2 separate regions of the Homo sapiens genome follow, and region 2 is linked to region 1. The links are contacts of gene promoters, found by promoter capture Hi-C in human tissues and cell types (Jung and others, 2019). All regions are on one chromosome and are shown on one strand. Each heading gives the region's core, a stretch centred on a gene start or on the middle of the fragment in contact. The rest is flanking DNA. Distances are from core to core; before and after follow the strand shown. Region 1 holds the start of MAPK13 (mitogen-activated protein kinase 13). Region 2 overlaps BRPF3 (bromodomain and PHD finger containing 3).

What was found. Contacts are between HindIII fragments. The study calls those that stand out against the background at their distance.
Region 2: a contact is called between a fragment that was not itself captured here and the fragment with the promoter of MAPK13 in region 1, in 8 of the 25 tissues and cell types used here (H1 embryonic stem cells, adrenal gland, bladder and 5 more).

What each region holds. Positions count from the first base shown.
Region 1 is chr6:36,129,097-36,131,796 of GRCh38, forward strand. It overlaps MAPK13 (mitogen-activated protein kinase 13), which reads left to right and starts at 1,417. Exons shown (of 12, transcript NM_002754.5): 1 at 1,417-1,605; 2 at 2,175-2,304. The coding sequence starts at 1,487. RefSeq lists silencers at 1,313-1,562, 1,603-1,672, 2,313-2,422 and enhancers at 1,568-2,171, 2,063-2,182. The HindIII fragment of the contact is 28,110 bases long and covers 1-2,700 here.
Region 2 is chr6:36,207,796-36,210,495 of GRCh38, forward strand. It overlaps BRPF3 (bromodomain and PHD finger containing 3), which reads left to right. Exons shown (of 13, transcript NM_015695.3): 5 at 1,992-2,120; 6 at 2,421-2,700. Among named protein-coding and RNA genes, the nearest start is that of BRPF3-AS1, 12 kb to the left of the region's middle. The HindIII fragment of the contact is 5,603 bases long and covers 1-2,700 here.

The DNA of each region.
Region 1 (2,700 bases), core at 167-2,666:
GGGCCAGGTGCGGTGGCTCACTTCTGTAATCCAAACACTTTGGGAGGCTGAGGTGGGCGGACCACCTGAGGTCAGGAGTTGAAGACCAGCCTGGCCAACATGGTGAAACCCCGTCTCTACTAAAAATACAAAAATTAGCTAGGAGTGGTGGTGTGCACCTGTAGTCCCAGCTACTCAGGAGGCTGAGGCAAGAGAATTGCTTGAACCTGGGAGGCGGAGGTTGCAGTGAGCTGAGATGGCGCCACTGCACTCCAGCCTAGGCAATAGAGTGAGACTCCATGTCAAAAACAAACAAAAATCCTGCACATTTGAACCTGCGTGGATATTTGGTATTATAGAATTAGTGCTATTAATTTTAGGTTTAAGAATGTATTGTGGGCCAGGCGCGGTGGCTCACGCCTGTAATCCCAACACTTTCGGAGGCCGAGGCGGGTGGTTCACGAGGTCAGGAGTTCAAGACCAGCCTGGCCAAGATGGTGAAACCCCATCTCTATTAAAAATACAAAAATTAGCCGGGTTTGGTGGCAGGCACCTACAATCCTAGCTAATCGGGAGGCGGAGGCAGAGAATTGCTTGAACCCGGGAGGCGGAGGTTGCAGTGAGCCGAGATGGCAACTGCACTCCGACAGAGTCTCAAAAAATATATATATATAGTATTGTGGATACGTACTTTTAAAAATCCTTACGTTTTAGAGATACAAAAATATTTATGAATAAAATGATATGACGCCTGGGTTTTGCTTCAAAACGATGGTGGGAGAGGAATGTGGATGAAATAAAATTGATTATGAGTTGTGGTTGCTGGGGAATTGGGGTCACGGGGGTTCATTAGAACCTCCTATCAGATGTGGTTCAGAAGCCTCAGACCTGGGAGCTGGCTAGAAATGCAGAATCTCGGCTCCACCCCAAACCTACTGAGTCAGGATCTGTATTTTAATCAAATAAAATGCCCAGGGGATTCCTGAGCACACTGAAGTGTGAGAAGCGCTGGCTTACTCTGTTCAATTCTTTCCTGCATGTTTGACATTTTCCATAATGAAGAGGTTGTGGGGTTTTGTTCTGCTTTCCTGTGTGTTCACAGTCACAGGGAGCTCTTCCTACGGAGACCGGGGCTGGAGGGAACTGGGAAGCACTGCCTCCCCGCTCCTGCTTGGACCCACCAGCCCCGCCGCTGGCCCGCGCTCGGCTGGGAGGCACCGGGGTCCCGCTGGGCAGCCCCGACCCCGTGCCTGGGCCGCACCTGCCGCAGTGGCTCCGTCGGGCCGGGCGGAAGCGCGGGAGCGCAGGGCTGGACAGGCCCGGGCGTGGCGGCCCCGGCGCACCTGGGCGAGCCGGCAGGTGGGAGCGTAGCAGCCCGGGGCCCCCGCCCTCGCGCGGGGGAGGAGCGGGCGGCGCGGGGCGGGCGCAGCGGGGGTCGGGGCGCTGGGAGCCCGTTGGGCCGCGAACGCAGCCGCCACGCTGGGGCCGCCGAGATCGGGTGCCCGGGATGAGCCTCATCCGGAAAAAGGGCTTCTACAAGCAGGACGTCAACAAGACAGCCTGGGAGCTGCCCAAGACCTACGTGTCCCCGACGCACGTCGGCAGCGGGGCCTATGGCTCCGTGTGGTGAGACCCCTGGGCCGCTGGGGGGCGGGGGGCGGGCGCCAGGCTCTCCCCTTTCCGCCCAGCCCGCCCTGGGCTGGCCCCTCGCCAGCGCCACCTTGACCGCGGACCTCAAGGCCCAGCGCCCTCCCCGGGGCCACCCAGCGGCCATCTCCCTTTTCTCACCGAGTGGCTGAGTGAGGTCTCTGGGGGTTGAGTTGGGACTGGGCCTGGTTCTCCAGGACTGTACACTTGCAAGACCCCAGAGTTCATCGGGCAGATCCTCACTGTTACAGACGAGTACACCGAGGCCCCAAGAGGGGGAGGTGGCTCGCCAAGTTGCAGACAGAGTGAGACTCCCGCCCTGCCGTGGATCCCGTCGCAATGAGACGTTGCTGCCCCTGGCGCTGTGCCCCTCTCTCAGCTCCTGCCTGGCTTCCTACTCCCTGCCCTGCGTCCCGCGGCTCCCCCATATTCTAGGTGGTGGGCCTAGTCCCCTCTCAGCCCAGCTGCCCAGTGGGAGGGGTCAGGGCGGTCTGGGAGATACGGCCCAGGAGGAGAGCCTCGCCTGCTGACCGGCCTGTGCCCGACAGCTCGGCCATCGACAAGCGGTCAGGGGAGAAGGTGGCCATCAAGAAGCTGAGCCGACCCTTTCAGTCCGAGATCTTCGCCAAGCGCGCCTACCGGGAGCTGCTGCTGCTGAAGCACATGCAGCATGAGAACGTAGGTGGTGGCTGCCCCGGGGAGGGGGTGGGGGCTGCCCTGGGGAGTCAGGGGCAGGCGCAGGCGGGGCCTCCCGGTATGGAGAGCTCGGGACAGTCTCCTCCCTGCTCCCCTGACGGTGCCTCTCGCCTCACTATTGAAAGGAGGGGGTGCCGAGACCTTCCCTGCCCACTTTCCAGGAAGAGGTCAAAGGGTATTTTTGGCAGAATGCACTTTGTGAGGTACAGACTGTGTTATCCTACAGAGGAAATTGGCACAGGGGAACTTTGTAATTGGTTCCATGTCTGAGAGCTTGTGGCCAGCTGGGACTAGAATCCTAGTTAGCGTTGTGTCCACGTGACCCTGATAACAATAGCAATATACACATATTGAGCACTTCCTATGTTCTAAGAGCTC
Region 2 (2,700 bases), core at 170-2,669, 79 kb after region 1:
TGGCCTGGGAACTTCTGAGGGTTCCCACTTGACTCTTAAACACTTATGGTCCTGAATCATTTACATTTTCTGTTTCTCCTCTGTTCTAGGAGATTTTAAGCCCTTGAGCATAGGAAATGTTGAGGTAGGTAGTGTAGCATAGTGTTTAGGAACATGAGCTATGGCACCAGACTGCCTGGGTTGAAATCCTGCCTCTTCTACAGACTACCTGTATGACATTAAGCAAATTCTTTAATCGCTTAATACATTGGTTTTCTCACCTGGAATATGGGGGTAATTATAGAGCCTACATCATAAGGTTGTTTTGAGGATTAGATGACTTCATCATGTAAAGAGCTTAGAACAGTGCCTGGCACATAGTAACAGCCAGAGAAATGTCAGCTGCTGTCATTATTATTATTATCAATACTCTTTGCTTCTCTGAAGTGTCTACTGCACATGGCAGAGAGCAAATACTGTTAATTAAGTGGATGAAAAGCCAAAACTGTTCTCTCTGGTCTAGGAATAGCAGCTGTCACTCACATGCTTCAGAGGCCAGGGTTAAAGATGTTCCTTTCTTGCCGGGCACAGTGGCTCATGCCTGTAATCCCTGCATTTAGGGAAGCAGAGGCAGGAGGATAGGTTGAGTCCAGGAGTTTGAGATGAGCCAGGGCAACAAAGCAAGACCTGTTCTCCACAAAAAGGGGAAAAAAAAAAGATGTTTCTTTCTCTTTCTCCAAATTCTAATTCAGTGGTCAGCCTTAGCACAACCCCTTTTCTAGCAGGCCAGTAGCCTGAGTTTCCTCCTCATAGCCTGGGCAGCTCATGCCATATTTACCATGGATGGCCATGGAGGACATCTCAGGACCTTCTTCAAGGGTTCAAAATGTCTGTGCTGTCCCAGGCATGATCCCACAGCTGAACTTCTCATCTCATCTCTGGTTCAGAGAAATGAGAGAGAGAAGAAGGCCTGGTCCTGGGGAAGTAGGCAGGCCTGTTTTGATATAGCCAAAAGGTGGAAATTTTCTATAGTCTTAATTTGTGGCTTCCCAACTTTTCACATTAGGGCATATGTAGAAAATAGCATTTGTACAGCATACTACTGTAAGTATATGAAGCTACTTGCCACTTGCGGGGGCAAGCCTGGAGGCCCTGGTGACCCCATGCTGACCCAGATGCTCCAAGGGCTGATGGAATCAGTATCTCAGCACACTGGGAAATTCTGGTTCAAGCACATTTTACATCATCATTGTGTCCCTTGGACTAAGTCAGACCTGGGTTCAAATCCTATCTCTATTCTTTTCTAGACAGATGACCTTAGACTAGTAACTCCTTCATCATGCTGTCTCTAAACCTCAGATTCCATATACATTTTTTTAATTTGTATTTTTTTTCTTTTAGTCCTTGGTGATCCTTGTTCTGATCCATATTTGTAAAATGGGGATAATAATTTCTGTTTCAGGGTTATCGTGATGATTAATTGAGGTAATACAAGTACAGAGTTAGTGTGGCATAATGGCCAAGAGCACTCACTGTAGAATCACTGGGACTGAATCCCAACTCTGCTCCTTATTAGCTATGACTTTAGGCCAGTTACTTAGTTTCCTCTAGTTTCCTCCTAGTTCCTTAGTTACTTGGTTTCCTCTTTGTAAAATACCTCATCTGTTCCTACCTCATATACTCATTTATTTTACATAAAATGCTTAGAACATTACCTGGCATTTAGTAAGGGCTATAGAAGTGTTAATGATTATAATTGTAATGATAATTATTATTGTTACTGTAAATTTTAGTATGATGTTTGGTACATAGGAAACAATAATAAAATAGTAGCTGTTGGTGTCATTATTCCTAGGCTAAAGGTTGGGTGATAGCTTCTCATATACTGGTCAGCTTAATATTCTATGAAAATTTGTTGTACAAGATTGGTAAAAGTCAAACTATCAAGAAAAAGTTTCAGTACATCTTTGCAGGGGATGTTCTGATCTGATCTCACCCCACCTTCCCCACAGGTCAAAGTCCAGCAGGCTGCCATGGAGCTGGAGCTGATGCCATTCAATGTTCTGTTGAGGACAACACTGGACCTGCTGCAGGAGAAGGATCCTGCACACATCTTCGCAGAACCAGTCAACTTGAGTGAGGCAAGTTCCCCCTACTTTCCAAGTAGTAAATTCTTCTTGAACTGGAACAGGGTCTGAGTAGGCTAGGAAGGAGTTGGGCCACAGGGTGTACAAAACCAGGGGTAGGAGGGTGGGTCTGGCAAAGCTAGTAGACTTGCCCTTGATGAGGGGTCAGCAGGCCAGGGTGGGCCAGGACTGTAGGTCTTTGAGTTAGCCTGGCATGGCCAAATCAGAAATTGAGGAGGCCAAGAGTATTGGTGAAGGGTGTGTCTGTTTGGCTAGTAAATGGTTGTTGTAATTGTACAGGTTTTATATGTTTAGGTTCCAGATTACCTGGAATTCATATCCAAGCCAATGGATTTTTCTACTATGAGGCGGAAGCTGGAGTCCCACCTGTACCGCACCTTGGAGGAGTTTGAGGAGGACTTTAACCTTATAGTTACCAACTGCATGAAGTATAATGCTAAAGACACAATTTTCCACCGAGCAGCTGTCCGCCTGCGGGACCTGGGAGGGGCCATCCTACGGCACGCCCGGCGGCAGGCAGAGAACATCGGCTATGACCCCGAGAGGGGCACTCACCTGCCCGAGTCACCCAAAT